Linked DNA regions of Homo sapiens: all the other regions are linked to region 3. Evidence: promoter capture Hi-C in 16 types of primary human blood cells and fetal thymus (Javierre and others, 2016). All regions are on one chromosome and are shown on one strand. Each heading gives the region's core, a stretch centred on a gene start or on the middle of the fragment in contact. The rest is flanking DNA. Distances are from core to core; before and after follow the strand shown.

The links. Contacts are between HindIII fragments. The CHiCAGO score rates a contact against its expected background, and 5 or more counts as called.
Region 1: a fragment that was not itself captured here is called in contact with the fragment with the promoter of LINC00852 in region 3 in 1 of 17 cell types (activated CD4 T cells); the score reaches 7.4 in activated CD4 T cells.
Region 2: a contact is called between a fragment that was not itself captured here and the fragment with the promoter of LINC00852 in region 3, in 6 of 17 cell types (endothelial precursors, activated CD4 T cells, non-activated CD4 T cells and 3 more). The highest score is 9.7, in endothelial precursors.

Annotation. Positions count from the first base shown.
Region 1 is chr3:9,989,969-9,993,474 of GRCh38, forward strand. The region is part of intron 2 of EMC3-AS1 (EMC3 antisense RNA 1); the gene reads left to right. It also overlaps a transcript of EMC3 not described here and the pseudogene FANCD2P1. Among named protein-coding and RNA genes, the nearest start is that of EMC3-AS1, 4.8 kb to the left of the region's middle. The HindIII fragment of the contact is 3,447 bases long and covers 1-3,083 here.
Region 2 is chr3:9,968,546-9,971,776 of GRCh38, forward strand. It overlaps EMC3 (ER membrane protein complex subunit 3), which reads right to left. Exons shown (of 8, transcript NM_001394674.1): 6 at 2,037-2,116; 7 at 1,174-1,256. Among named protein-coding and RNA genes, the nearest start is that of EMC3, 17 kb to the right of the region's middle. The HindIII fragment of the contact is 571 bases long and covers 1,180-1,750 here.
Region 3 is chr3:10,282,852-10,286,093 of GRCh38, forward strand. It overlaps LINC00852 (long intergenic non-protein coding RNA 852), which reads left to right and starts at 1,568. Exons shown (of 1, transcript NR_026829.1): 1 at 1,568-2,895. It overlaps GHRL (ghrelin and obestatin prepropeptide), which reads right to left. Exons shown (of 6, transcript NM_016362.5): 6 at 2,815-3,043. The coding sequence ends at 3,024. GHRLOS (ghrelin opposite strand/antisense RNA) reads left to right here. Exons shown (of 6, transcript NR_073568.1): 2 at 670-752; 3 at 2,897-3,002. The HindIII fragment of the contact is 4,911 bases long and covers 1-3,242 here.

The DNA of each region.
Region 1 (3,506 bases), core at 110-2,609, 290 kb before region 3:
TTTTTTTTTTCCTGGAAGCATAGACTCAGATTGCCCTGAATACACTCCCAGTGTTTTCTCTTTTTTTTTTGAGACAGAGTCTTGCTCTGTCACCCAGGCTGGAGTGCAGGCAGTGGCGCAATCTCAGCTCACTGCAAGCTCCACCTCCTGGGTTCATGCCATTCTTCTACCTCAGCCTCCCGAGTAGCTGGGACTACAGGCGCCTGCCACCACGCCCGGCTAATTTTTTGTATTTTTAGTAGAGATGGGGTTTCACGTTGTTAGCCAGGATGGTCTGGATCTCCTGACCTTATGATCCACCTCAGCCTCCCAAAGTCCTGGGATTACAGGTGTGAGCCACCGTGCCGGGCCTTTCTCTTTTTTTTTTTTTTTTTTTTTTTTTAAGAGACTAAGTCTTGCTCTGTCACCGAAGGTGGAGTGCGGTGACAGCATCATAGTTCATTGCAGTCTCAAACACCCGGGTTCAAGCGATCCCCCCACCTCAGTCTTTGGAGTAGCTGGGACTACAGGCAAGCACCACCAGGCCTGGCTAATTCTGTTAGTTAGTTAGTTAGTTATTTTGAGAGAGTTTCGCTCTTTTGCCTAGGCTATAGTGAAGTGCCACAATCTCGGTTCACTGCAACCTCTGGCCCCTGGGTTGAAGCAAATCTCCTGCCTCAGCCTCCCTAGTAGCTGGGATTATAGGTGCCTGCCACCATGCCTGGCTAATTTTTGTATTTTTAGCAGAGATGGGATTTCACCATATTGGCCAGGCTAGTCTCAAACTCCTGACTCAGGTGATCCACCCACCTGCCTCAGCCTCCCAAAGTGCTAGGATTACAGGTGTGAGCCACCACGCCTGGCCAATTCTTTTATTTATTTATTTATTTATTTATTTTTTGAGACGGAGTCTCGCTGTCGCCCAGGCTGTAGTGCAGTGGCACGATCTCGGCTCACTGCAAGCTCCGCCTCCCGGGTTCACGCCATTCTCCTGCCTCGGCCTCCTGAGTAGTTGGGACTATAGGCGCCCACCACCTCGCCTGGCTAATTTTTTGTATTTTTAGTAGAGACGGGGTTTCACCATGTTAGCCAGGATGGTCTCGATCTCCTGACCTCGTGATCTGCCCGCCTTGGCCTCCCAAAGTGCTGGGATTACAGGTGTGAGCCACCGCGCCCGGCCATTCTTTTATTTTTTATAGAGATGAGGTCTTGCTGTGTTTCCCAGGCTGGTCTCAAATTTTTAGCTTCAAGTGATCCTCCTGCTTGGGCCTCCCAAAGTGCTGGGATTATAGGCATGAGCCACTGCACCCAGCCCTCATATTTTTCTTTTTTAAACTTAGGTAAACAAGCTAATTGTGGAGAAAAATCCACAAGGAATCTACAGATGTAAAAAATACAGTTTTTCTCTGCTCTCTTTCCCATTCCTCAGGGGTAATCATCCTTCCAAATTTTTTCTCTTCATATACAAGCTGTAATTGTGTGCAAGTACAGGTATACTCTTATGCCTACACATATATATGTTTATATATTGTTTTTACAAAAGCAGAATCTTAACTATGATTATGGGTGGTGGTGGTGGTGTTTAAAGAGACAGGGTCTCACTCTGTCGCCAGGCTGGAGTGCAGTGGCACAATCGTAGCTCACTGTTGCCTCCACCTCCTGGGCTCAATGATCCTCCCTCCTCAGCCTCCCAAAGCAGTGGGATTATAGGCATGAGCCTTCATGCCCAGCCTGATTATCCTTTTGCAGGCTGCTGTTTTTTCCACTTCATATCAGGAATGTCTTTCCTCTGTCAAAAAATAGAGTATGGCTCAGCAGTCCCTAACCTTTTTGGCACCAGGGACTGGTTTCATGGAAGACAGTTTTTCCACAGACCGTTTCGGGGCATGATTTCAGGATGAAACTGTTCAACTTTAGATCATCAGGCACTACTTAGATTCTCATAAGGAATGTGCAGCCTAGATCCTGCGCATGTGCAGTTCACAATGGGGTTTGCGCTCCCGTGAGAATCTAATGCAGCCGCTAATCTGACAGGAGGCGGATCTCAGTGGTAATGACCACTTGACCACCCCTCACCTCCTGCTGTGCAGCTTGGTTCCTAGCAGACCACAGACTCCGTGATCCAGGAGTTGGGGACCCCTGATCTACCTTTTTCTTTTTTTTTTAAATTTTGTAATTAAAAAGTCTTTTTTAGACAGAGTCTCGCTGTGTCACCCAGGCTGGAGTGCAGTGGCACAATCTCGGCTCATTGCAACCTGCACCTCCCGGGTTCGAGTCGTTGACCTGCCTCAGCCTCCTGAGTAGCTGGGATTGCAGGCAGTTGCCACCACGACTGGCCAATTTTTTTTTGTATTTTTTAGTAGAAATGGGGTTTCACCGTGTTGGCCAGGCTGGTCTCGAACTCCTAACCTCAGGTGATATGTGTACCTCAGCCTCCCAAAGTACTGGGATTACAGGTGTGAGCCCCCACGCCCAGCCTGGCTTATCCTTTTTGATGACTATAATATTTCAAAAATTAAAATTACTCCATCATAATTTACTGAACCCTTTCCAGATTGATGGGCATTTATAGTCTTTCCAACTTTTCACAAAGTAATTTTTCTAGTAATAGTGAAAATACATACTGGAGTTGGCAAGTGATTGAATCTTTTAATAAATGTGAAGATGTTCAAAGTTACTTCTGTAGTAGTATCACTTTAATGTATATTGGAATGTATTCCTAAGAGATACCAGTGGTTAATAGTTGTGGCACTTTATTTCTTTAAAAAATATTTCTGGGTTTTGTGAAAAGTGTAGATACTACCAGGGGAGTGTGTGGAACAAATGAGCATCATCCATTGTGTGTTTTAATTAGAGGAAAAGCTGCTGTTTCATTGTAGCAAATGTACTGATTGGTTAACTGTTTTTCTATTATTGCATATTTATTGACCTGGTGATGCTTTTCATCATCTATAGCACCAATACTCAGACAAAGAAGTACATTGAAAGGGTGCTAAGAAATAAGATTCGATCAGGCTGCATTCAAGAACAGCTGCTCCAGAGTACATTCTCTGTTCATTACTTAGTAAGTGTCAGAGACTATTGATTTTTAATCTAAAACAGAAAGCTTTACAGCTCTCATGTAAAATTTCATCTTATTTCAGTCCATTGTTCAAACCCATTGAAATTTTTGAATTTTATTTTTGCATTAACATTTTAATTGTCTATCTCAATGCAGTTTGCAATTATGACAAACTAGCCTTTCGTATCCTATTCTAAGTAGCTTATAAAAACCTTGAGGGGAATAGGACCAGGCTGTAGAAACTAGTAGAAACGTAAATATGGACCTATTTGAACTATCACTCTTTGGCCATTCAAAACTGGATTTTAGGTGATAATTCCTCTGGAAATGTAAATTATTCAAACTGGAATTTATAAACTGGGAATAATGTTTTGCTGGCTGAACGTTCAGTATATTAACAGTATAGAACTTAGAAAACTGGATGGGCCAGTAGTTTGGGGTTTGGGTTAGGAGCTAATGAGAATAC
Region 2 (3,231 bases), core at 215-2,714, 310 kb before region 3:
CTTGTTCTTAATCTTAAAGGGAAAGCTTTCAGTCTTTCACCATTGAGTATGATGTTAGCTGTGGGTCTGTCATAGATGTCCTTTATCAGGCTGAGAAATTTCTCTCTTTTTTTTTTTGAGACGGAATCTTGGTCTGTCATCCAGGCTGGAGTGCAGTGGCACGATCTTGGCTCACTACAGCCTCCGCCTCCCAGGTTCCAGTGATTCTCCTGCCTCAGCCTCCTGGGTGGCTGGGATTATAGGCACATGCCACCGTGCCCAGCTCATTTTTGTATTTTTTTTTTTTTTTTGAGACAGAGTTTTGCTCTTGTTGCCCAGGCTGGAGTGCAATGGTGCAATCAATCTCAGCTCACTGCAAACTCCACCTCCTGAGTTCAAGCAATTCTGTCTCAGCCTCCCAAGTAACTGGGATTACAGGTGCCCACCACCATGCCCAGCAAATTTTTTTTTTGTATCTTTAGTAGAAAAGAGGTTTCACCATGTTGGCCAGGCTGGTCTTGAACTCCTGACCTCAGCTGACCCACCTGCCTTGGCCTCCCAAAGTGCTGGGATTACAGGCGTGAGCCACCGCACCTGGCCCATTTTTGTATTTTTAATAGAGACAGGGTTTCACCATGTTGTCCAGGCTGGTGTCGAACTCCTGAACTCAGGTGATCTGCCCACCTTGGCCTCCCAAAGTGCTGGGATTACACGTGTGAGCCCCTGTGCCTGGCCGGAACTTCCCTTCTCTTTTAGTTTCTATCATGAAACACAGTGAGATTTTGTCCCACAAAAATCATACTAAATTTTGCAAATTCTAGAACCTTTTTGTGAAAAGGCTCTTAGTATTGTTTTTTTAATGCAATTTATATCTGATGTCTATGGGGTTCAAAAAGGTTCAAATTATTCTAAATGTTTACCTGGCACCTCCGATTGGATTATTTTACAGCATCATTGATAGTGTGGATTAAATTCCAGTGAGCATTTAAAAACCAGTAAAAGCACCAAGAATTTCCATTTACTTAATAGATGATTCTGTCTCAGGAAAGAGAGACGTGTAAACTATGTTTTTACTAAGTTTAAATTAAAACGATGGAACCACACAACACTCCCTTCAAGGAAGCTATTTTTAAAATAGCTCTTGGTAACACCTTTCAGAGCATTGCTGCAGCTTTGAAAGGTGAAGGAGTATACCTTGAAAGCTTTGTTTGTGTCTGCGGGCATGGCCATGGCTGCTCCCGTCATCTGCTCCTGCATCATTCGTGATTGGTCAGCGGCTGTAGCATAAGACACACTTACATGAGTGCCAGGACTCAGCAAGCACCCCAGCACCCAAGGGGAAGAATGGGCTTCACACAGATTAGAGAACTGGACTACAGCCTCACTGGCTGGCCCTGTCACCCACTGGCTATGTGACTCTAGGAAAGTCACTTTGTGTCTCCTGAAAAATGGGGACAGTAACAGCAAAAGAGAGATCACTAAAGGAAGCTCTAAACTTTATTTCAAATTTCAACAATAACAGCCACCAGTTATTGAGCAACTACTGCATGCCAAGTACTTCACTAAGTGCTTTGCATATTTTTCCTCATCTGTTCCTAACAACCCCACAGGTTAACTAATAAAGTCCTTATTTACAGATAAGTAAATAGAGAATTCGAAGTTAAGTAACTTGTTAAGTAACTTTTCTGAGGTCCCAGCCAGTAAACAAGAGAGCAAGGATTAGTACTGGCAAGGGCTCTAGTCAATGAACTGACAAACCAAGCCTTCTTTAAGCTTTAGGTTCACAGGCTTACACTGCTGGTGCTGGATCCCTCACATGATGGTATCAGACTCTGGGGAATCAAAATACTGTCCCAGTCATTGCCAGAGAGAATTGAGATCTTCAGTTTGACCCCCGGAATTTTTAAGACTCTTTCAGAATACCTCAGAAACTTAAGGAAGGAAACATTTTATTTGACTATGGTAACAAACAGCACAACCTACAAGACTTTTCTGGCTCTAATATGGATGATTCATCTATGGAAGTATTTGCTTAGTAAACCTGACATGCTTCTTACCATTATCTTGGCCCAGAATCAGAGAGTAAATGCTCCGAAGCCCAAATACATTGAGGAAGTACCAGGATGCAGAACTCACCCTGGCAAAGCAAAATGAAAATGGTGTGGTTAGTTATTATATCAGAGAGTAATGCAGTTCCCACTTCCCTACCACCCAAAGTTGTTCAGTGTTTGTAAAGAAGTCACCTTGGATGGGCTATATTCATCCAAAGCACAACCACAGAAGAAATACAAGTTGTTAAAGCAGTCTCACCAATACAGAACTATATTTCAAAAAATCCAAAGGTGACTCCCATTCTGAATTCCATTCCCTAGAGGAAATCACAAGTGTTGGTGTGTTCCATACTTTTTTTTTTTTTGAGACGGAGTCTCACCCTGTTACCCAGGCTGGAGTGCAGTGGCGCAATCTTGGCTCACTGCAACCTCTGCCACCTGGGTTCAAGAGATTCTCCTGCCTCAACCTCCTGAGTAGCTGGGACTACAGGCACACACCACCATGCCTGGCTAATTTTTATATTTTTATTAGAGATGGGGTCTCACCATGTTGGCCAAGCTGGTCTCGAACTCCTGACCTCAAGTGATCCGCCCACCTCAGCCTCCCAAAGTGCTGGGATTACAGGCGTGAGCCACTGGGTGTGTTCCATACTTACAAGAAGGGATGAGACATGGATTTCAGGAAATACAGTACCGAGGACTATAGCTACTGGGAGAGCCATTCCAAGTTTTGAACTATATCACTGAGGCTTCCTTTAGCTTAGGTTTCCTACTCAACCTCCATAAAATAAATATGCTTGCATATAATAAAAACTAAAAACAAAAATGCATATGGGAAGTGATAGATAAATGGAAAGATCCACACTCATTCCAACAAGTGGGTCACATAAGGGCAAGAGTCTATTCTGGTTACTCCATAGGCTGCAGGTAAGTAAATGGCCTGTCTGAATACAATGTTGCTGATCTCACCACAGTGGTAATTGTACACTCAGGTTCCAGTCTCGCGTCTGTCCATGACTGCATTTCAGTCACATGCCTCTCTGGATGCTGAGAAAAGATAAATAAGCTTTTCTCCAACCCATGAAGTTTTTGTTTAGCCCAATGAGACTGAAGGTAAAAGTAGAATAGACTCATGCTACTCATATAATGTACAGCTTTTCTTCTCTAGCAGAACTGTGCATGGCCCAGCCTTCCCAGCCTC
Region 3 (3,242 bases), core at 318-2,817:
TGCAACCTCCACCTCCCAGGTTCAAGTGATTCTCGTGCCTCAGCCTTCTGAGTAGCTGGGACTACAGGCGCCCAATACCATGACTGGCTAATTTTTTTTTTTTTAAATTTTAAGTAGAGATGAGATTTTGCCATGTTGGCCTGTTTGGCCTTATACTCCTCATCTCAGGTGATCCACCTGCCTCGGCCCCCCAAATGCCAGTGACATTTGTAGGTGGATTCAGATTAAGGTGGGTAGCTTAGTTGAGGCGTCTCAACCCTTTTCTGTGCACTCTCTCAAGATGATTTCTGAACACACAACTATAAGTGCATGAGAACTTAAATACGTGTGCTCTTATGCTAATTATACACAAAGTAAAAGTTTTTTCACAAGGAGAATTTTTTTCTCCAGCAAATAGCTCGCTCACCCTAGGGGTACATACACCCCACTTTAGAGACCCTCAAGTTACAGTGGTATCATTAAACGATCCATAAAGGAGTGGGTTTAAGAAAGCTGATACAGGAACATGTTTGAAATAATACATTTTCTCAAGGGTGTCCTCCAACCATTTTCTTTGATAAATTATATTTCTGCCCATTGTTGACTTGAAATTGTCCTCACCCCTCTACCAAGTTCACCCAGTGTATTCTGAAGGAAAATGAATGAATATGGAAACCTCTCTCATCCTAGGCAGTAGAGCGAGGGAAGCTGCACTGGCTGAGAGGCTGTGGAACCGGATGAAAAAGCAGCCCCTGAGTCCTGTGGCGTTGGCTGTGAGTCGGCCACGTGCTTGCTGTGTGCTTTAGGAAAGTTACTTAATTTCTCTGAGCTTTAGTTTTCTCCCTCATAAGTAGGCTTGCTGTGAAAATGAAGTGAAATCACATTAATCTGCATGAGCATTTAACACGGTGCCTGGTGTACATCAGGGGTGTGACAGTGAGTGCTGGCTGCTGTAGTAATTGAATGCTTAGCTACGTGCCGGGCCCTTTGCCAGCTACAGCTCATGTGAGACCTCATGTTCAGTCTTGGCAGTAACCCAGCAAGGTAGGCATTTTACATGTGAGGAGCCTGAGAAATTCAGTCTTGGCCTGGATCACAGAGCTGGTATCCAAATTCAGGTCCGAGGCCAAAGCCCAGATCTTTGCACTACACCTTGTTGCCTGGCACAGGTGAGAGTGCCCAGCCCATAGTGGGTGCGCAATATCTGTTTCTATTTGAATGACCCAGGCAGGCGGTTAATAATGCTTGTGATTTCTTTGAGAGAGAAGTAAGTTCTTGTCTTTGGTGGGGGAAGCATCAGGTGACCAGCATTTGTCCAGAGCCTGGTACCCATCCTCTCCCAAGCCCAATCAGTGGTGCTTTCTCAAAAAGAAACCATCTCCTGACCACTTTGGCCATATTGGGCCTTTGCTCCTCTTCTGTAGCTATTGATAAGAGGGCTGTGGGCAGTTAGTGATAATCAAGGTCGTATCCCAACTAAGTGACAGAGCTGAGACAGTTAAGTTCCAGGACAAGTGTGTTGATCTCTGTACCCACTTGTGCCAGGTGCCTGGGGAGGTAGGGGCATGGCTGTCTGAGGGTGGAGGGGTGAGTAGGGGGCCTGCAGTGTGCTGTGACGCCTGGGAAGGGGATTCTAAGCCATTTCCCATCAGCCGTTTACTAAGTAGCCTGGGGATCTTGTTAAAATGCAGATCCTGATAGATTAGGGCTGGGGTGCTGCCCAAGATTCTACATTTCTAAGAGTCCCTGGATGACGGTGGCATTCACAGACCACAGCTTCTATGTGAGGGAGAGCAGTTGGGTTTCTGTCTGCCTGCCGCACCTGATCAGTAGTTAGTGCCTGCATGTGTGGCGGCCAGAATTTTACTTGGGGAGACGCTCGGCTCCTAGCACCCTCTGTGGTAGGGGTTTTCCAGAGTGTGGGCATTACCCCAACTGTCTCTGCAGACGGCTTCCTGCATGTTTCCCACAAGCGCTCAGATGGCTGAATTGGCAAGTCTGTGGTGCTGCTCTTTGGGGCCACCTCGTTCTTTGCCTTTCCCTCCCCTTAGCGATGTGTCCCATCCGTTGCCTACAGTCAAGTCAGTCCACATGTTTAGGCTAAGGTGGGCATGACCGAGTGGCCTTCCCCCGGGAAGACCAGTGTCGTAACTGGAATTAAGTTGTGGAACATAAGAGTCAAGGCTCGTGTCTGCTGTGAACTGGAGTTGAGGGAATGTTTGGGGATCCCACCTGGTATCAGTAAGGGAACCATGGCGACGGCCAGCCTTGCCCATGTGAGGCATTTGCTTTGTCAGGCCTTCTCAGTAGTGGAGAAGGGAGGAAGGAGAATGCAGCTCTTTCAGTGCTGTCTAGCAGTGCCCAAGAGCCGTGATTGGGCACCTCACTTAACGTCTAACTTCAGATTCACTCTTGGGCATTCCTGTCTTCCTCTCCAATCTTGAATGGATGTTGGCTTCGATAATGTCATCCTGAAGTTTCTTTGTCCACACAGCCCTGGCTGGTTGTTAATAAGCTGTTAATGCAGCCTTGCACTCAGGAAGCCCTGATGTTTAAAGGAACTGTGTCTTTGTTCTTCCTCTCTTCCCTCTTTCTCTTAGTCCCACTTTATCTCTTCTTTCTCTTCCTCTCCCTCCTCCTTTTCCCCTCTCCCTCCTACTCTCCCCCTTTCTCTCCTCCTTCTCTAAGAAACCCAGTCTTAATTCCACACAATGCATGCACATGCAGTAGCTTCTCTGCTTGAGTGAGCTGGTGTGATTAGGTTTTCTAAACATGCACATTGGCCTTGCTACTTGTCCTTTTATTCCCTTCCCACAGACCATAAACCAAGAATTATTTTTATTTGTATTATTTTGATTTTTTTAAAGTAAAATATTAACTTTTCCTCTTTGAAATAAATTCCCATTTGGAACATCAGCATACAGTTTGAACATTTATTCGCCTCCTGAGCTTGTACAACAGTCGTGGGAGTTGCTGCAGAAGCAAGCGAAAAGCCAGATGAGCGCTTCTAAACTTAGAGAGAGGTGAGTAAGGCTTGTGGGCGATCACTTGTCGGCTGGGGCCTCTGGAAAGCAAGAGGTTGAGTAAGAATGCTGGGTGCACCGTCCTGCTAGTGCTTTTCTTCCACGGTGGTGAGATTGGAGGTGGGATGTAATGGTGGGGGTTGTGGGGAAGCACTGGCCTTGGAGTCAGAGGGCGGCACTCAAGTGTGGACTGTTGTGCCCTGGGCAAGTCACCTCAAAGCTCTGAGTCTTGGTTTCCTC